Regions from separate parts of the Homo sapiens genome. Here regions 1, 2, 3, 4, 6 and 7 are each linked to region 5. The links are contacts of gene promoters, found by promoter capture Hi-C in human tissues and cell types (Jung and others, 2019). All regions are on one chromosome and are shown on one strand. The core of a region is centred on a gene start or on the middle of the fragment in contact, and the rest is flanking DNA. Distances in the headings are between cores, read along the strand shown.

The links. Contacts are between HindIII fragments. The study calls those that stand out against the background at their distance.
Region 1: a contact is called between a fragment that was not itself captured here and the fragment with the promoter of SOX1 in region 5, in 5 of the 25 tissues and cell types used here (H1 embryonic stem cells, IMR-90 fibroblasts, dorsolateral prefrontal cortex and 2 more).
Region 2: a fragment that was not itself captured here is called in contact with the fragment with the promoter of SOX1 in region 5 in 3 of the 25 tissues and cell types used here (spleen, stomach and thymus).
Region 3: a fragment that was not itself captured here is called in contact with the fragment with the promoter of SOX1 in region 5 in 1 of the 25 tissues and cell types used here (dorsolateral prefrontal cortex).
Region 4: a fragment that was not itself captured here is called in contact with the fragment with the promoter of SOX1 in region 5 in 7 of the 25 tissues and cell types used here (H1 embryonic stem cells, IMR-90 fibroblasts, dorsolateral prefrontal cortex and 4 more).
Region 6: a contact is called between a fragment that was not itself captured here and the fragment with the promoter of SOX1 in region 5, in 4 of the 25 tissues and cell types used here (H1 embryonic stem cells, liver, mesenchymal stem cells and 1 more).
Region 7: a contact is called between a fragment that was not itself captured here and the fragment with the promoter of SOX1 in region 5, in 2 of the 25 tissues and cell types used here (lymphoblastoid cells and mesenchymal stem cells).

What each region holds. Positions count from the first base shown.
Region 1 is chr13:111,640,311-111,643,238 of GRCh38, forward strand. LINC02337 (long intergenic non-protein coding RNA 2337) reads left to right here. Exons shown (of 2, transcript NR_135814.1): 2 at 1,435-1,769. Among named protein-coding and RNA genes, the nearest start is that of LINC02337, 46 kb to the left of the region's middle. The HindIII fragment of the contact is 3,151 bases long and covers 1-2,928 here.
Region 2 is chr13:112,399,372-112,402,354 of GRCh38, forward strand. It overlaps SPACA7 (sperm acrosome associated 7), which reads left to right. Exons shown (of 7, transcript NM_145248.5): 5 at 1,698-1,793. All of the region lies in intron 2 of LOC105370372 (a long non-coding RNA gene), which reads right to left. Among named protein-coding and RNA genes, the nearest start is that of SPACA7, 25 kb to the left of the region's middle. The HindIII fragment of the contact is 5,032 bases long and covers 1-2,983 here.
Region 3 is chr13:111,577,843-111,580,611 of GRCh38, forward strand. No RefSeq gene overlaps it. Among named protein-coding and RNA genes, the nearest start is that of LINC02337, 17 kb to the right of the region's middle. The HindIII fragment of the contact is 3,908 bases long and covers 1-2,769 here.
Region 4 is chr13:111,656,590-111,659,472 of GRCh38, forward strand. No RefSeq gene overlaps it. Among named protein-coding and RNA genes, the nearest start is that of LINC02337, 62 kb to the left of the region's middle. The HindIII fragment of the contact is 3,813 bases long and covers 1-2,883 here.
Region 5 is chr13:112,065,899-112,068,634 of GRCh38, forward strand. It overlaps SOX1 (SRY-box transcription factor 1), which reads left to right and starts at 1,251. Exons shown (of 1, transcript NM_005986.3): 1 at 1,251-2,736. The coding sequence starts at 1,761. The region is part of intron 1 of SOX1-OT (SOX1 overlapping transcript); the gene reads left to right. The HindIII fragment of the contact is 28,986 bases long and covers 1-2,736 here.
Region 6 is chr13:112,360,870-112,363,569 of GRCh38, forward strand. LOC105370373 (a long non-coding RNA gene) reads right to left here. Exons shown (of 3, transcript XR_944295.3): 3 at 744-2,524. Among named protein-coding and RNA genes, the nearest start is that of SPACA7, 14 kb to the right of the region's middle. The HindIII fragment of the contact is 3,875 bases long and covers 1-2,700 here.
Region 7 is chr13:112,379,098-112,382,078 of GRCh38, forward strand. All of the region lies in intron 1 of SPACA7 (sperm acrosome associated 7), which reads left to right. All of the region lies in intron 3 of LOC105370372 (a long non-coding RNA gene), which reads right to left. Among named protein-coding and RNA genes, the nearest start is that of SPACA7, 4.2 kb to the left of the region's middle. The HindIII fragment of the contact is 3,218 bases long and covers 1-2,981 here.

The DNA.
Region 1 (2,928 bases), core at 163-2,662, 430 kb before region 5:
CACCCATGGGATGAGTGCTATTGCTATTTCCATCCTATAGACGAGGCAGAGAGATTTTAAGTAACTTTTTTCCAGATCCTACAGCTTGGAAAGGCGGAGCTGGGCTTTCCACACGGCACTTCAGCACCGTCCCATGCTGTCTCTCAAAAGAACAATTATAAAGTCCTTCCAAAGCTTTAAAGTAAAAATCAGTTTAAATGTGAGGTATGTGGGCACTTGTTTGTTTCAAATGATGTGCAGCAGTGCCTTTCAGTGCAGTCAAGGGTGCTTGGAGTTCTCAGCACCTCCGGAGACCTTGACGGTGATCAGGAATGGAAACCGCATGGATCAATCAAAGTGGCTCCCAGGGTTGCACTAGAGGCTTTGCTGCAGAGCCCAGCCTGGAAAATGACGGCCACATTCCCCGTGGCCTTGAGCCCAGCGTGTTCACCAGCCATGACGGCCCTTTGCCTTTTGTCTGTCTACCCCCACCAGACCCAGCTGGACGAGAGGGACGGATGAGGGTACTACCTGCTCAGGGCTGCCTTCTTTAGCCCTTCTCAGAATGAGAGTCAGTCTTGTCTGAATGTGCAATCTTTGAATGAAATCAGATTGTTCCTATTTGTCATTTTATTAGCAACTCATTACAGCCATTTCTTTGGGATTAAAAAGAGAAGAAAGAAGGAACATAAGTAAAAAGAGTGAGCTAATGGCTCACCCAGAATGCTGTGGCAATTTATGGTGTCTTGAATGAAATGACAGAATTGCCATAATGTTAAATTTAACATGTTTTATTTTAGCAATATGATCATCTGATCATATCTCCAAGCTCAGCCAGCATTACAAAAGTAATTTTTATAATTGTAAATTCATTCACTCTAAGATGCTTCAGAATTACTTTAGAGATCACATTACCAAATTTTCAGCTTAAAAGTGACTTTATCCTGTCATGTGTATCACTTCAGTGATGGGAGCAGAATGGGAATGTCTTCTGCACATAGAAATGGAGTGAACGCCTCGTGGACTTCAGGCTTTCAGAGCACGAATTGTCGCAGGTGCTTTCTCCTCTTAACAGTGTTTGCCAATATTTGTTTCTCCCCTCCTGTCTTGGGTACCAAGGCTCTCCTCAATGCCTCTGTCCTTCTCCCTTTTGACATTGCCACCAGGACTTAAGAAGGTCAGGGAGGTTGCCCGCAATGTGCCTGCTGTAAGTAAGAGTGTCCCGGCTGTGAGGACCACCATGTCGCATAGATGGGGCCTGCTGGAGGTGCTGCTGGCAGATTTGTGGGCCTAATTCTGGCTTTGGGGAAGGGCAAAGCCCTGTTCTCATGAGTAGAGGGGTCGCACAGAATCCTCAGCGCGTATCCTGCTAATTGCTGTAGCCCCTCCTAGTAACTCTTAATAAACACGACTGGTCATGCACAGAATGCAAAACCCTTTTCTCTCTGTTGGCAGTTTCTCAGGCTGAGAAAAAAACATCAGTGTGGGGGAAGATTTGGGACCCCTGTCTGCATCTACCTGGACTCTCATTAAACAGATGATGTGATGAAGCAATCAGAAAGCCTGGCCAGCTGCTCACCTCCAGGGCAGCTTCTTGGGAAGACAGTGAACAATTCTGGGGGTTAAGAACTGTTTTTAAAAGAAAACACTAGGGAGGCTGGGGCAGGAGGATCGTTTGAGGCCCAGGAGTTGGACGCTGCAGCTAGCTATGATTGTACCACTGCACTCCAGACTGGGTGACAGAGCAAGACCTTGTCTCTAAAAAATAAATAAATTAACCTTTAAAAACCAAGCGCAAGGTTAGCCTTCCACTGAACCCCACCGCTGTCCAGCATCTCGTGTCTTGGTGCCCGCTCTGAGGCAGGGTTGGATGTGGTTTGCAGCAGGCCTTCCAGGGCTGGTTTTCATCCTGACTTCATGGCTGATGCTGGCTGACCCAGGAGCCTGGCTCCCTCCCTCTAGGCCATGTGGCACTGTGACCCGCTCCCTGGGGCCATGGCAACTGAGGGGAGAAGTGAATGCTTTGCTTTGGGCTTTACTCTGTAAATTCTGCTCATAGGGAACGCTCTGGATCGTTGCCCAGATTTCTCCCGTCTTCTCTGGGCCAGCCCTTTCCTCAGGTGGAGCTGGGAAAAGAGGCCAAGGACGCAGCTCTGGGAGACGACCTTCCAGGGCAGCCTTGGAACACCATGTCCCCAGCATCTCTGCTGGCAGGACCGCCATGCATGAGTGGGAAATCGCTCACAACCTGCTCCCATCCAAGAATGACCATTAATGTCTATTTTGGCCACTTCTCAAGTAATTGTCAAAGCCCAGCTGGGAGATGCCCGCACACAGAGCCCTGGGCCCAGGCCACAGGGGCACACCGTTCCTACCTTCCTTTGAATCAATTGTTTCATTTAAACTCAAAGCAAAATATTTAAACAGACCAAGTAATATTTCTTTTTCTAATCCAGGTGTGCACACGTGCGTGAGCCCTGTGTTTTCCCTTTCTGCCTCCACTTTTACAGATCTGTGAAGTGGGGCATTCGGCACGGTGGTGGTGAGACACATGGGGTCTGGGGGCCAGGCTCCTACATCCTCACTGTGCTGACTGCATAGACCAGGGGCAGCCTGGGAAGAAGAGGCACCAGGCGGCAGAACAGGCCAGATTGTGTCCAGGAATTGAAAAAGCATGTGTATTTTTCTCATCCCTTATGTTTAGAGAAAAAATATTTATTGCTACTTCTTTCTTAAAGCTTCATTTTTAGTTAGCTTCTTATGAGTTCCACATATGGAAACGTTTCCATATTTTCACAAATCTAAGTTAATGATACCTTTACAACCAGCCCCCCAATGCCCAAGTGGCCTCCAGAAGATGACGAATAACATAAATGAAATAAAATCATCAGCTGAAGAAAACGTCTAATGTATTTGTTTCTAAAAATTCTTGTGGTTGACTCTATTTTA
Region 2 (2,983 bases), core at 201-2,700, 330 kb after region 5:
GGGGCCGACCCTGGAAAAAACACAGCCCAGGGAAGCACAGCAGAAATGTCTCATGGGCAGGCAGATGCCAAGACAGGGAGGCAGGTGCTGCCACAATGCCTGGCCCCCTCTCCCAAAGCTTCAGCTAAGTCACTTCTCCTTCACAGGGCAGGTGCAGAGAGAGCCAGAGTGCCCCCAGGGGGGTCCCCCAGAAGTAGGGAAAAGCCTCCCTCCAACAGATGAGTCTGCTGGGAAAAAAATCAGTGTGCAAAGGCTCAGAGGATAAGATACTTGGACCCCATGGAGGGGCAAAATACCTCCTCTTTACCCTGGAGATTCAAAACCAGAAAGGGCACATATATATACCCAGGTATATGAGTCCATTCTCACACTGCTACAACGAACTACCTGAGGCTGAGTAATTTATAAAGAAAAGAGGTTTAATTTGTTCATGGTTCTGCAGGCTGTGCATGAGGCATGGCTGGGAGCCCTCAGGAAACTTACAATCATGGCAGAAGACCCTAGAGGAAGCAAGTACATCTTCACATGGAGACAGGAGAGAGAGAGTGAAGGGGGAGGTGCCACACACTTATAACCAGACCTCATGAGAACTCACTATCATGAGAACAGCAAGGAGCAACTCTGCCCCCATGATCCAATCATCTCCCACCAGGTCCCTCCCCTAACACTGGGGATTACATTTAGACATGAGATTTGGTTGGGGACACAGAGCCAAACCATATCACTGGGACACACATGTAGGACATCTGTGGTGTTCCCCACACACAGGACCAGGTCACAGCTCCAGTATCTGATGGTGTGCCAGGAGCCAAGCATTTCTGTAGGAGCCCAGGAATCTGCATCCCAATCCATTACCCCAAAGAGTCCCCCCAATAAGACAGACTCTGGAGTTGGGAAAGATTGAACTCGATTTTTTCAGGACTTAAACAGGAATAAGATTTTATTTAAAATTAATATGAATACCTCCAAATTTGTCTGCCTGGTGGTCAGTGTGGTGTTTGCCAACTGGCGAGTTTCTCTTTCTGCCATTGCTTCTCCATTTATTAATTGGGATTCTGCTTTAAGAAAGAGCTGCCCCTCCTCCCCTGTTTATGTATTCGGTTGCTTATTACTGTCTACATGGGCTACTAGGGATTACTATAGTCTGTGGGTTATAAAACACTAACACCGTTACTGATTGTGAGCCAAGAACTGGATGCTTGCTAAGTTCAATGGCACAGCATTTCTTCCAGGCCCTCTCCACAGAAAGAGCTAGGAAACACTTCTGTGCAAATCACAGATCCGTGCAAATCCTCCTTTCCTGCCCGCACTCCTTTCTTCCTACCCCAGTTCTGCAGTCATTATTTTTTGTATGTATCTTTCCATTGTTTGCAATATTTTGCCATTTCAAACACAGCTGCAGTGAGCAGCCTATAGCACAGGTATTTTCATATTGTCAGGAATTATCTCCAGGGTCAATTCTTAGCATTGGGATGTTGGGTCAAAGGACGTGTGGAGGAGTGAATATGTAGTTTTAATAGTCAGATGAGGCCTGGCTCTGTATTCACATATTGAGTTTCCAAAACATATTTTCAAATAAAACTTGAAAATGATATTAGCATCTCAACTTAGCATGTTTAAATAAATAAATGACCAAAGTGCTTATAAGTGTGTAATCAAGGACATTTTCCCCATTTTTTCCATATTTGTCATTAAAGAAGCCAATGCTAATGCAAATCTCCATGGCGATCCTTCTGAGAATTATCGTGGGCCACAGGTGTCTCCTGGCAGTGAGAAGAGTGTTTCCAGTAAAGGTAAATGTGCCCTGCCCACACTGAGAGCTCTGTGGGAGAGACGGAGGCATGAGTGTGTGAGGTGACTGTCTCCCTCCAGCCTCGCCAGTATGCCTTGTTATGCCATTAGGTTTCCACCAACATCATGGTGAGAAGTGGTATTTCAGTACTGCTTTTGTTTGCAATTGTCTCATTATGAGTGAGTTTAAACATCTCATATGTTTAAGGGCCATTTTTATACCACTTTTGTAAATGTTGCATTCATTACAATTTCCCATTTTCCTTTAGGTTTTTGGTCTTTTAGCCTCATTTCTCAAAGCTGTTTATATTTTAAGAACAAACTTTTAGAGAGAGAGAGATGATAGATAGACAGATAGATGATAGATGGATAATTGTTGGGGTTTGTTAGTTGACTTTTGACTACGTTTATAATTTTTCATGCAAAAAAAGTCAATTTTTGTGTAGCCAAAATTATCAATCTCTGACTGCCTTTAGCTTTTGACTTTCTGAGTTAGAAAGTCTTTCTCCACACTGAGGCTAAAGAAGAATTTGTTTTCCTCCAGTATTTATAGGACTTCATCTGCTACATTAGCTCTTGGATCCATTTGGAGTTTATCTCTGAGCATGGTGTGAGGTGTTCCTAATTTTATATTTTTATGAATGGCTACCCAGTTATCCCTGAACCATTTTTTTAAAAGTCCATCTTTGTCCCATGATTTGCAAAGCCACACGTATTACACACAAAGTTTTTCTGTATGTGACTGTCCTGTCTGGGCCATGCAGCACAGTCCTCTACTAAGGGGCCAGCACCACAGTGTGTTATTCAGAGTGTATTTTAACCTCTGGGACACACTTCCCTCTTTTAGTTTTTTTAGCTTTTCTTTTTCCATGTTTCCCTGATTATATTTTTGGTAACATGTCTAATTTCCTTTCCTTGAGTTTATGTTTTTATTGGGATTGCTTTACATTTGTAAAGTAATTTAGAAAATAACTGGCAGTTTTACAATGTTGAGTGGATCTATCTAAGAATAAGTAATGTCTTTCTGTTTGTTCAATGTCATTTCCTATCTTTCAGGAATATTTTTAAGTCTTCCTTGTATAGGTGTTATACTGTCATGATAAGCTTATTCCTAAGTATTCAGTCTACTTTCTTGCTATTAGAAGCAAGATTTTATCTATCATTGTGTACTTTAACTGGTCTTTTGTATGAA
Region 3 (2,769 bases), core at 250-2,749, 490 kb before region 5:
TGACAAAGGCAAGGATGTCAGTCAGGTGGCTCTCACCCGTGGTGGTCGGTCCTAGGGATGGGTGAGATCACAATAGCTGGACTCTCAGGAGTATAGACTCTTGAATTGCTAATGGGTGCTGCACATCATCCAGATGGTAATAATTAGCTCATCAGGTATGTTTGGATAGGATAGCCCCATTCTAGACTTCATGTTATTACAACATACTCATATATATCCATTCATTCACTGGGCACACATCAGGGTGCACGCTGTGTCCCAGGCACTGGGGACAGAGTGGTCAGGGAAAGCTCAGCTAGGTGAGGCCACCGCAGCCCCGGTCTCAGCGGCCTGACACAGCAGTCATCGCTCACACACACAATGCAGACCCCGAGTTTCGGCTGGGCCCTGTCCTCCACCCGTACCCCACAACACACTGTCTGGAAATTGCTGGTTGTGGAATGAGAGAATGGGAGTTCTGGAAGACCTCCCTCCAGCAGCAGTTCAGTGCTGTGGGCTGGAGTTGACGGGGGTTATTTTCACTCGCAGTCCGTTGGCTTGAATTATACATGTGTCCCCCGCACACAAGGGAGTCAGGAAGTGTGGTTCCACCATGTGCCTGGGGGCAGAGCTAAGGGCTATGCTGTGCTGGAAAGACAGGTGCAGGCGAGATCCGATACTGTGGTGCATGCATTTTCCCTGGGCAGCCAGACATTAAACAGGCGAGGACAGGGTTGATTAATTATCTTCTTGGTAGGTGCTGTGGGTAGCATGAGGTGCCAGAGTGCTGTCCTTGGGTGTTGCTGTCTATTCATGAGTAGTTTCTTTTTTTTCGGTTTGTTTTTGGTTTGGTTTTGTTTCGTTTCGAGATGGAGTTTCGCTCTTGTCGTCCAGGTATGAGTGAAATGATGTGATCTCGGCTCACTGCAACCTCCGCCTCCCGGATTCAAGCGATTCTCCTGCCTCAGCCTCCCGAGTAGTTGGGATTACAGGTGTCCACCACCACACCCAGCTAATATTTGGTATTTTTAGTAGAGACAGGGTTTCATCCTGTTGGCCAGTCTGGTCTTGAACTCCTGACCTCAGGTGATCTGCCCACCTCGGCCTTCCAAAGTGTTGGCATTACAGGCATGAGCCACCACGCCCAGCCATGAGTAGGTTCTTTATTAGATGTTTTTCATTCTTAGCATGGAATAAATGATGAAGTCATAAATATTTGGAAGTGAAGGAGTCTGAACTGATAACACTTTTCCGTGGCTTTTAAACTGTATTCAGTGAATCTCCTGGGTGTGTCGGGGGGCTGATGTGATCAGAGAAGCTCTGACCTGGCCTCGTGGTCCACACGGAACTGCCGCAGCCGGTCATAGCAACAGCAGCCTAGTGTTTTAGGGTGTGTGCATCAGATTTCACGCACCCACACACACACACACACACCCACACACAAAATTGGTTCTGCTGCTTTAACATATATAATACAAATAGGCTTGTCTCAAACTAGCTTTTTGCTATCTGGGGCCCAAAGAAGTTAAGTGACTTCTTAAGGCTACATTTGAAACTACTGTCAGAGCAGACTCATTGCTCTGATTTTTTTTTTTTTTTTTTTAGTGATTTTTACTGTGGTAAATATACACAAAATAAAATTAACCACTTTAACCATTTTTAAGCATACAGTTCAGTGGCATTAAGTATATTTACATTGTCCAACCATCACTTCCATCGATCTCCAGAACTTTTCACTATCTCAGACTGAAGCTCTGCACCCATTAAACATTCATTCCCTTCCCTGGCCCCCAGCCCCTGGCAGCCCCCATTCTACCTTCTGTCTCCATGAATGGGGCAACTCGAGGGACCTCATATGAGTGGGATCGTACTGTATCTGTCCTTTTGTGACTGGCTTACTTCACATAGCATAATGCCCTCAAAGTTCATCCACACTGTAGCGTGAATCAGAATTTCATTCCCTTTTTAAGACTGAGTGTTTATTCTAAGGTATGTACACGCCACGTTTTGTCCATCCATTCATCTGTGATGAACATGGATTGTTTCTGTCTCTTGGCTGTTGAGAATAATGCTGCTGTGAACGTGGGCAGACAAGTATCTATTGGGGTCCCTGCTTTCCATTTTTGGGGATATATAACTCGACACTGCTTTGACTTGAAAGTTATTTTTTTCATCAGAAAAGTAACACCTATTCTTGTTACTTGAATTAAAAAAAAGTTAAGACCAACAATGTGCAAAGTGCTCTGCTAGCCCCTTTGAATGAAAAAATGTCCCCATTGCAGTGACCCTGAAGGACGGAGGGGGAGTTGCTGAAAGGAGCTGTGGCCTGAGCAGCCCTAGAACTGCCCTGGTGGAAGGGCACATGGACGGCCTCAGACTATTCAGGATATTGGCTGTTTAAGGAACTATGCTGTACACCCAGGCAGAGAAAAGTTACAATTTTACTCAGGCATTAAGAGTTTGAGAATTAAACCACTTTTGGATCTTACATTTTGCTTGAGATAATGAAGCTTCTGCGACCCCACGTTATTTCCTTTGGAGCTTTGCTCTCTTGTTTTGTGGGAGCGCATCCTGCAGTGGCTTCCTCAGAAAGAAGGCATGGGAAGTAAATTTCCTGAATGCTCATGAGTCTTAAATATCTTTGTCTGTCTCTACTTTGATTAATCATTTATTAATAAGGTATAGAATAGAGATAAATTTTTATCATGATTTTGAAGGTACTGACCCATTACCTTCTAGCACCCAAGCCATTAGTAATAATCCTATTTTCTTGCCACTGATTGCTTTAGG
Region 4 (2,883 bases), core at 135-2,634, 410 kb before region 5:
GAAGGGGTCTCCAGAAACGTCACCATCACCACTGGCAGCCACTGCGGCCACCCAGGAGTAGAACCTGCAGCCTTACCCCGTGCCCACGAAGGGCGCTCCAGAAACGTCACCATCACCACTGGCAGCCACCGTGGCCGCCCAGGAGTAGAACCTGCAGCCTCACCCCGTGCCCAGGAAGGGGGCTCCAGAAACGTCACCATCACCACTGGCAGCCACTGCGGCCGCCCAGGAGTAGAACCCGCAGCCTCACCCCATGCCCACGAAGGGTGCTCCAGAGACTTCACCATCACCACTGGCAGCCACTGCAGCTGCCCGGGAGTAGAACCTGCAACCTCACTCCGTGCCCACGAAGCGTGCTCCAGAAACTTCGCCATCACCACTGGCAGCCACCGCGGCTGCCCAGGAGTAGAACCTGCAGCCTCACTCCGTGCCCAGGAAGGATGCTCCAGAAACTTCACCATCACCACTTTACCTCTTCCTCTCACCTCTGTCCCTCAGCAGCACCAAGAAAGACTTCTTTTTGTCTTGAAGTGTCTCCTCTGAGCCTCCTCCTTCCTCATAGTTTCACCTCTGCCCAGCAGTCACGCCTCAGCCTTGCTATGTCCATGAGAGCGCACCTGTGAAGCCTGAGGGCATCATCAGAGATGAGGCGTGGTCTGTCCAAAATGCCTGGAGAGTCTCCTGGCTCCTGGAATGCAAACATGCAGCAGAAAGCTGATTGCCGAAAGACACTGGGAGTTTATGCCAGCAACCAGACCTTCACAAAAGACTAGCAACCTCTTTACTCTCATTTCTGCTTTTACTGTCTGCCCTAGTTGCATGGACTTGTTAGCAGCCTCTTTGAGGACTAGAAAAGATCGTCTCATGATGTCCAGCAGGAAGCCAGACATCCTGTAAGATGTGTGCTCCAATTTCCATCAACCATGAAAAGATTAGGCTAGGTGAGTTTTGGGGAGTAGAAAACCCACATCTAGCTTTTTTCTAAGCACAGGTACCACTTTCAGGTCATCGGCATAGCATCCTTACCTTAGAACCAGGAAGTTCCAGTTTGTCAAAGCCCTGCTAACCATCAGAGCAGGGGCCAACTCATGGTAGCCCACACCTGGCTTTGTACGGCTGGTGATCTCAGAATGGTCTCTCCATTTTTAAGTGGTTGGAAAACAAATTACAAGAAGCATGGTATCTCATGACACATGAAATTTATATAAAATTCAAATTTCAATGTTCCTAAATAAAGTTTGACTGGAACAACCCCACACCCAAGCATTTGCATATCTGGGGCTGCTTTTGAGCTGCACTGGCAGCACTGAGTAGCCACAATGGAGACTGTGTGGCCTGAGAAGCCAAAACTATTTATTACTTCTTTTTTCAGAGAAGAAGTTTGCTGACGCCTGCACTAGAGGTTATGCCTGGCACTTCCCTTGCTTTCTCTCATCTATATGATCTGCTAAGTTCTGTTAGGGACATGGAACTGCACTTCTGAAATATTTCCAATCTGCTCTCAACCCACAGTGTGGGGAACTTCAAAATGCAACAAAGCAAAACTCTGATTAATAAATAAAACTGCACAATTGTTGACTGTTTGACATTAAAGACCCAGGCACAGCAGGCCAACCAAACCAGTCCCCATTTCAAATCGTTCTCCCCAAACATGATGCATTTCAGCAAAGATTGAGGATCCCTGCTTGCTCCAGGCACGGCGGCCACAGGGCCCAGGCAGCAGGCCCGGGAAGGCTGAATGCATTCCGCCTCTCTCTTCTGATACCTCTTTGTTAAGGTCTCCCGGGAATCCAGCTTCCTTTGTGCAGGCAGCTGCGTTTCCAGTGCGTGGTGCAGGAGGCAGGCAGGGGAAGTGTGGGCAGGCCGGTGCTGATTTGCAATCGGATGAGCATTGTTTTTCTCCTGCTCTGCACTAAGTCTCTGGAATCTATCAGTTATATAGATTATGTAACAAGAGCCAATAGCTGGGTGAAAACAAGCTTCAGAAAAACAGAAAGCTTGACAGCAACAACAACAAGAAAGGCAGGTCCAAGGGAGGTTATGAAATGGAGCTTGACCTCTCTCCCTCTCTCTCTCTCCCTCCAAGCCACGGCTTTACAGTTGGCTAACTTTGCTGTAATTGAGTCTGAAGGTTGAGTCCTTGTTCTTTAAGAATTGCCAATGGAGCCCTCTAATCCTCTGTGGTCTCCTCAGTGAATCAGGACTTTGGTTTATTGACATGTAATTAGATCAGTATGTCACTACATCAATGCCAGTGTAAACATCCTGGAGTAAGTAGCTGATCCTTACAAGATCAGCAACCTAATCTCCACTGGGATGCCAACCGGCTTTGTCAACACTCCAGTTGAGGACTGTATCTCTTTTCCTGATGTCTGACTCCAGCAAGGAGGGGGCTGGAACCGAAGCAGGAATCTGCCACCTGAAGACCTTCTTATTGACATTTGGGCTCTTCCATGACCTTCATTACTGAGGGGCGCCAGTGACCTAAAATAAATACTACCGGGGCATGCGAATTCCATCTCCTTCTCATGTCTTCCCTCTGCGTTTCTCACTATTAGGAAGAAGTACATCCAGCAGAAAAGCCAGAATTGAAAGCACCTGAAATGTCCATTGCCCATGAGAGTTTCACTTCTAGCTCACACTTTCAATTAATGTGAATTAATTTCAAGGAAAAGAAGCTTAGGTTCTAATTCTGATGTTTATTGATAACACTACCAATAACTGGCAGAAACATGCTAGGTATGTGACATTCAAAGTCAGCAGAGACTGGCTCACAGATGGTGGTTGGGGCTGCTGTTTGTTAGGCATTTGCTGAGGGCTGGAATCTGTGCTGAGTGGGCGTTTGCATCCGCCTCTTCGCTCATTCCCTAACGATCTGAGGGA
Region 5 (2,736 bases), core at 1-2,500:
TGTGGCCCCGCGCAGTTCACGCAGTTTTCTCCGTTCTTAGGCAACCAGCTCGTGGGAAATTCACTCCAGAAAAGCGTGCGCCATATCATTATTTTGCGATTCAACAAACTTTTTCAACTGTTGTTCAGGAACTAGATTCCAGATAGATCTTGTTGTGTTCGGCCTTCCTAGAAATTCCTTTTCCAGAGGAAGAAGATCCGGGTTGGGAAGAGTGCGTGACTATGGCCCCGGGCTCATTGAAAGACTCCTCCCCACAAAAGTTTAGGGCTGATACTAAACGAAGCTATGGAGCCATGCCCACACAAATACTCCCCCTTTACCCGAATTGTGGGGCCTGGACTGTGAAGGCCTTCGCTGCAAGAGCGGGCACTGGCGAACTTCAGTGCACGCCGCGGCCGAGAACGGATGCAGGGCGGGGGATGGCTGAGCCGCCTGATCCTTGCAGAGAACCTGCAGGGGCCCTCGGAGGGTATCCCCTGCGTCCAAGGGAGCGCCCCTCCTTTTCAGCACTCGGGGGAACTGAGGGCGACGTGCCAGCCCCGCACTCAACTTTCCCCTTCCCTGCAGGCACAGAGTTGGCCGGCGGGGGCAGAGGAGGAGCTGGGTCTCCACTGCGCCCGTTTAAACCTGGCCAGGGGCTGCGTTTCCTCCCCCCACCCCACGACGATCCTTTCTTAGTCTTCGCTTTTCAACCCAATCGTTAATCATTCGGAACGCGCGGGCGGGGAGCGGCGAGGAGGGCGAGCTCGGGGTTCGCCGCCGCCGCCGCCGCCGCGCGCGCGCGCTCAGGAAGCGGTGTGGCTGTCACCCCCTCCCGGGCCTCCTCCCCCCTCCTTCCTGCTTTGCTCCCCCTCCTTCCTCCCCTCCTCCCCGCTCCGCCGCCCGCGCCCAGTGTATCTACTCCCTCCCCACGTCACTCGCCAGCGCGCCATGCAAATCACCGCCGCCGCCGGCTCCCATTGGCCGCGGCGCGCTCATTTAATGGCAGCCCGGGCCCGGCGTATGGCTGCTGGGCCCCGCGCGCCGCCGGCCCCGCGTGCGCCTCCGCTCCGAGCGCACGGCCCCGGGCAGGCAGCGGGCAGCCCATCCCGGGCTCGGCGGCCCCGGCTCTCCGGCCCTCTCCGCGAGCCCGCGCTCCTCCCGCTGTCCCCGGGCCCCTCCCTGGCTGCACCGTAATCGCCCCCTGCAGGCCCCCCTGCGCCTCCCCCCCCCCGCCACTGGCGCCTGGCTTCCCCCGGGCACCTGGGACCAGCACATGCCCAGCGCACGCGGCGCGCCGCCCTGCTAGAAGTTGCAGCCTCCGAGTTGGAGGCCGCTGAGGACCGAGCGCAGGAGGAAGGAGACAGCGCGCAGCGGCGGCCGGCGAGGAGACAGCACACCCCGGGCCGGGCCCAGCGCACCGCTCCCGGCCCCAAAAGCGGAGCTGCAACTTGGCCACGACTGCACCTGTTTGCACCGCTCCGCCGAGGGCGCCTGGGCTGCGGTGGCGGCGAAGACGGCGACCCCGACCGTCGGCCTCTTTGGCAAGTGGTTTGTGCATCAGGAGAAACTTTCCACCTGCGAGCCGAACCGGCGCCGAGTGCGTGTGTTTCTGCCTTTTTTTGTTGTCGTTGCCTCCACCCCTCCCCATTCTTCTCTCCGCTAGGACCCCCCCGCCCCCGTCTCACTCCGTCTGAATTCCTCTCCGTCTCCCTCCCACCCCGGCCGTCTATGCTCCAGGCCCTCTCCTCGCGGTGCCGGTGAACCCGCCAGCCGCCCCGATGTACAGCATGATGATGGAGACCGACCTGCACTCGCCCGGCGGCGCCCAGGCCCCCACGAACCTCTCGGGCCCCGCCGGGGCGGGCGGCGGCGGGGGCGGAGGCGGGGGCGGCGGCGGCGGCGGGGGCGCCAAGGCCAACCAGGACCGGGTCAAACGGCCCATGAACGCCTTCATGGTGTGGTCCCGCGGGCAGCGGCGCAAGATGGCCCAGGAGAACCCCAAGATGCACAACTCGGAGATCAGCAAGCGCCTGGGGGCCGAGTGGAAGGTCATGTCCGAGGCCGAGAAGCGGCCGTTCATCGACGAGGCCAAGCGGCTGCGCGCGCTGCACATGAAGGAGCACCCGGATTACAAGTACCGGCCGCGCCGCAAGACCAAGACGCTGCTCAAGAAGGACAAGTACTCGCTGGCCGGCGGGCTCCTGGCGGCCGGCGCGGGTGGCGGCGGCGCGGCTGTGGCCATGGGCGTGGGCGTGGGCGTGGGCGCGGCGGCCGTGGGCCAGCGCCTGGAGAGCCCAGGCGGCGCGGCGGGCGGCGGCTACGCGCACGTCAACGGCTGGGCCAACGGCGCCTACCCCGGCTCGGTGGCGGCGGCGGCGGCGGCCGCGGCCATGATGCAGGAGGCGCAGCTGGCCTACGGGCAGCACCCGGGCGCGGGCGGCGCGCACCCGCACGCGCACCCCGCGCACCCGCACCCGCACCACCCGCACGCGCACCCGCACAACCCGCAGCCCATGCACCGCTACGACATGGGCGCGCTGCAGTACAGCCCCATCTCCAACTCGCAGGGCTACATGAGCGCGTCGCCCTCGGGCTACGGCGGCCTCCCCTACGGCGCCGCGGCCGCCGCCGCCGCCGCTGCGGGCGGCGCGCACCAGAACTCGGCCGTGGCGGCGGCGGCGGCGGCGGCGGCCGCGTCGTCGGGCGCCCTGGGCGCGCTGGGCTCTCTGGTGAAGTCGGAGCCCAGCGGCAGCC
Region 6 (2,700 bases), core at 190-2,689, 300 kb after region 5:
ATCAGTGATGTTGAGCATTTTTTCACATGTTTGTGGGCCATTGGCATGTCTTCTTTTGAGAAATGTCTATTCATGTCTTTGGCCCACTTTTTTAATGGAGTTATTTGGTTTTTGCTTGTTTAATTCATTAAGTTTCTTATAGATTCTGGATATTAGACCTCTGTTGGATGCATAGTTTGCAAATATTTTCTCCTATTCTGTAGGCTGTCTATTTACTCTGTTGATAATTTCTCTTTCTATGAAGAAGCTCTTCGGTTTAATTAGGTCTCACTTCTCAATTTTTGTTTCTGTTGCAATTGCTTTTGAGGACCTAGTCATAAATTATTTACCAAGGCCAATGTCCAGAATGGCGTTTCCTAGGTTTTTTTCTAGGATTCTTATGGTTTGTCGTCTTATATTTAAGTCTTTAATCTGTCTTGCATTGACTTTTGTATATAGTGAAAGGTAGGGGTCCAGTTGCACTCTTCTGCATATAGATAGCCAGCTATCCTAGGACCATTTATTGAGTGGGGTGTCCTTTCCCTGTTGCTTATTTTTGTCAACTTTGTTGAAGATCAGGTGGCTCTAGGTGTGCAGCTTTATTTCTGGGTTATCTGTTCATTCTTTTGGTCCATACGTCTGTTTTTGTACCAGTACCATGCTGTTTTGGTTACTGTAGCTTTATAGCATAGTTTGAAATCAGGTAATGTGATGTTTCCAGCTTTGTTCTTTTTGCTTAGGATTGCTTTGGATGTTTGGGCTCTTTTTTTGTTCCACGTGAATTCTAGAATAGTTTTTTTTTTCTAATTCTGTGAAAAATGACATTGCTAGTTTGATAGGAATGGTGTTGAATCTGCACATTGCTTTGGGCATCGTGCCATTTTAATGATGCTGATTCTTCCAAGCCATAAGCATATTTGTTTGTGTTATCTATGATTTCCTTCAGCAGCGTTTTGTAGTTATCTTTGTAGAGATCCTTCACCTCCTTGGTCAGATGTATTCCTCGGTATTTTATTTCTTGTGGCTATTGTGAATGGGATTATGTTCTTGATTTGCTCTCAGTTCAAATGTTATTGGAAATGCTACTGAATTTTGTATATTGACTTTGTATCCTGAAACTTTTTACTGAGGTCATGTATGAGTTCTGGAGCCTTTTGACAGAGTCTTTGGGGTTTTCCAGGTATCAAATCGCATTAGTGAGAACAGATAATTTGACTTCCCCCTTTCCCTGCTAGGATGCCTTTTATTTCTCTCTCTTGCCTGATTTCTCTGGTCAGGACTTCCGGGATTCCCAGTTTTAATTCTTAGTCACTCTTAGTTCCAACAGTTGGAGCACCGACAACTGTGAATTTATGACTGTACTCCACAAAGAATGTCTAGGCATTTAACCATGCTGTCTGCATTCAGTAGCTATCGGGAATAACAGCTGTTAGACTTGAGCAAACGTATTGATGGGAACATGGCTAGGAAACATCTTTAAAGTTTCTTTAACCCTGTTTCCCTGTTTGTCCTGCCAGCTAATGATATTCTTTGAAAGAAAAACTGAATTTAAACTCTGCTAACAGAGGCCTAACTCCATAGCAATGTGTTTTACAAATAGTAGGTCTTGATAAACATTTCTAGCACAGTTTTACATCGAACTCATGATCAACACTTTTCTCCTAGTTTTCCAATTAATAATTCTATGTAATCAAGTATTTTTTTCTTTCACTGTGATGTGACTCCATCCTCATACAATGTATTTTGTATTTGATTTTGCCAAAATTATTTCTTAAAGCAACATTGGATTCTTTATTTGAATTCAAGAAACTAATACAAAACGGAGCCTGAATATATGGAATTGGTCTCAGAGAACACACTTGCCCAGATTTTCCAGGCCAGTCTTGGCCATCCTGGGAAACTCTGCCATTTTGTGCTACTGGTTTCATAGCCAATCGTGGCCAATATACTGGATTGTATCACATGTAGAAATCTACAATTAATCTGATTCCATGTAATCTGATCCTCTCAGCAGACATACTCCATAAGAAGACAAGAAAAAGGAAGGAAAGGAAAGGGAAGGGAAGGGAAGGGAAAGGAAGGGAAGGGAAGGGAAGATGGATAGATGGATAGATGGATGGATGGTTGGATGGATGGATGGATGGTATAGAAAGCTTTTAGGAGATTTTCTTTCTCAGGTAAATATTTTGCTTTCCCAGAGGAGACAGCATTCCCCCTTGGCATTTCACTTTTGTCTCCAACACTTAGAATTTCTAGTAGCGGGACCTCTGGACTGCAGGGCTATTATAGACCACTGAGGTCAAGGTTGATGCATCCAGGAAGGTGCCCTGCATTTTCTTGCTAGTCTTCAAAGACTCCTCCTGTGGACACTTCCTGGGCAGGAAGTGTCATTGGCCACGATCCTGCTGTGACCCTCCATTCTGCATCCAGGTTCTTTCTGCCTTTTAAAGCATCGGCATAATGTCTCTACAATTAATCTGTAAAGCAGCAGAACTTTGTGATTCTGACACAGTTAATCGTTCCCAGTATCTCTATTTAAAGCTTTCTAAAGACAAAAGTAAAGAAGACAATTATACAGATTGCAGAGACCAGAGTAAGATAAGCTTGGAGAGAAAGAGAAACTCAGAGAGCCAACAACAATATAACATAAACAGCTCAGCAAATAATAGTGCAATTTCCCAGCTAATAGAATGGTTTAACACCTGAATACATTCACATGCC
Region 7 (2,981 bases), core at 211-2,710, 310 kb after region 5:
TTTCCAAGAAAATTCAGAAAAATTATAATCGTCCCCACATTGAGTCCCACATCATTAATTCTTGTTCTACTTGATCTTGGGTTAGCAGGTTTACAAATCCGTCAATGTCTCCCTGAGTTCTGGAAAAGTCCAGTCTAATAGTGCAATCTTAGAGGCGTCAGAAACCTTACTCCAGAGTACTTGGCAGAGTCTTACCTAAAAATCTCCTTGAAGACAAAGAATTTTTGGACTGTAGCTGATTGCAAAAGCTTTCAAAAAAGCATCAGAGTAAAACAATAATTGTCTTGAATGACAAAAGACATAAAATGCATAAAATGGCCATGGTTAAAAATCTGATGAGAGTTCATTATGCTGCAATTGACAAGGAAATTTGGTTGTTTCTGTGACATACAACATTACAAGACAATAACGGAAATTAGGACTCATAACTTTATACCAGGACATATCATGGACAGTAAGGACAGTGAAAATTTCTAGGAATTTAATACAATTTCTGAAACACTTATAACATATATGCATACAAATATAAAGAAGGTTAAACATCCCTTATTTGACAATGCTTTTTACGAATTTAATGTATCAAATAAAGCTAATTAGTTTAACATCTTTCTTTTCACCAAGTGAGAGAACAAATCCTTTGAGATTTTCTAGTGGCCCTCTGGGAAATCTCAAAATTAGTTTGAGGTCAAAATTCTTCATTTAGAATTTTACTTGGATGAAGTTGTCAAAAATTATAAAAGTTTTGAATATTTGGTTAAATAGGATCATAAGTTACTATGAAATGGTAGCTATCCATTTAAGTTAAATGACAGTAAAGAATTTTTAAAGAAAATATAGGAAGTAGCATGGTTTTTAAAACAATTTAGCTCTTTTAATATTGAGGAGACTCAGTTTTCTTAAGTAATCAAAAACATGATAAAGAAAACATGAAACACAGGAAATATTTGATAAGACACAGAATCTTTGTTTCCTAGTAAGACTACTCAACAGGTAAGAAACAAGTACCTCTTACAATCTCTTATTAAGAACAGACCAGGCCTGGCGTGGTGGCTCATGCCTGTAATCCCAGCACTTTGGGAGGCCAACATGGGCGGATAATCTGATGTCAGTATTTCAAGATCAGTCTGACCAACATGGTGAAACCCCATCTCTACAAAATTAGCCAGACATGGTGGTGCATGCCTGTAACCCCAGCTACTTGGGAGGCTGAGGCAGGAGAATCACTTGGACCCAGGAAGTGGAGGTTGCAGTGAGCCAAGATCACGCCATTGCACTCCAGCCTAGGCAACAAGAGCAAAACTCAGTCTCAAAAAAAAAAAAAAAAAAAAAACCAGACCAATAATTCAACAAAACTTTGGCCTTTTAGCAGACAGAGAAAATCAAACTCCAGTACTGCATTGCTACACTCTTGATACTAAAGCTCATCTATAAAATCTTATAATAAAATTCATTTACTGCTAGTGTATCTTCACCACATAAGATTTTTCTCTCTCTTTTTTTCTCAGAGACTCGTTACATCTTTCCATACTAATTTACGCATTTTGTCCGGTTTTTTCTCTTCCTGAAAAAACAAATTTTAAACCACTGTAGGACAAAATTACTCACTTTTTTCGTCAACAAAAACACATTCTTCATATCACATAAGCTTTCTTATCAAAAACAGATCTTACTTTCCTTTATACTTTGCACAGGAAGTTGTTTTTCTTCACCCTCATTATTTCCAATAGTTTTAATTACACATGTTGATTATGTTGATTACAATGTTCAACAGAGAAAACTAGGAGTAGACAGTTGTGAATTGTGTCACATATAGCATTCTGTAACAAAGTAGCAAATTGTATGACTATACCATCTTACAATTTTTAGAGATATATTTATCTACAGCATAATTTTTCAAGGTGGCAAAAACAACTTTTGTTAACAGACTCAAATACATTTAGTCTCTCTGTATCATATAAAATAAGAAAACTTTGCTTAGTACTGAGTGTTTCAATAGCTTATCTTATTTAAAAATTATTAATGAAACTCTTGTTTTACTTAACTGATCATGACGCCAGGGTGATGAGTCACCAAAAAGATGTTTAGAAACTGTTTTTAAAAGGCAAACACAGGTTGGGTGCAGTGGCTCATACCTCTAATCCCAGCACTTTGGGAGGTTAAAGCTGGTGGATCACTTGAGCCCAGGAATTTAAAACCAGCCTGGGAAATATGGTGAAACCCCATCTCTACCAAAAAAAATGCAGAAATTAGCAGGGTGTGGTGGCATGTGTCTATAGTTCTGGCTGCTTGGGAGGCTCAGATGGGAGGATCACCTGAGCCCAAGAGGTCGAGGCTGCAGTGAGTCATGATCACACCCCTGCACTCCAGCCTGGCTGACAGAATGAGACCCTGTCCCCCAAAAAAAAAAAAAAAAATGCAGACACGCTATTGTAACTGCCCAAGGGGTTCACTTGCCCCCTGCCCAGGCAGAGCCAATTCTTCAAGACAGGGGAACTGCGATAGAGAAAGAGTAATTCACGCAGAGCCAGCTGTGCAGGAGACCAGAGTTTTATTATTACTCAAATCAGTCTCCCCAGGCATTCGGGAAACAGAGTTTTTACGGATAACTTTGTGGGTGGAGGGAAGCCAGTGAGGCAAGAGTGCTGACTGATCAGGGATGAAATCACAGGGAGTCAAAGCTGTCTTTTTGCACTGAGTCAGTTCCCGGGTGGGGGCCACAAGATCAGATGAGCCACTTTATCCATCTGGGTGGTGCCGGCTGATCCATCAAGGGCAGGATCTGCAAAATATCTCAAGCACTGATCTTAGGAGCAGTTTAGAGAAGGTCAGAATCTTGTGGCCTCCAGCTGCATAACTCTAAACCATATAATTTCTAATCTTGGGGCTAATGTTAGCCCTACAAAAGCAATCTAGACCCCAGGCAAGAAGGAGGACTGCTTTGGGAAAGAGCTGTTACCGTCTTTGTTTAAACTATAAACTAG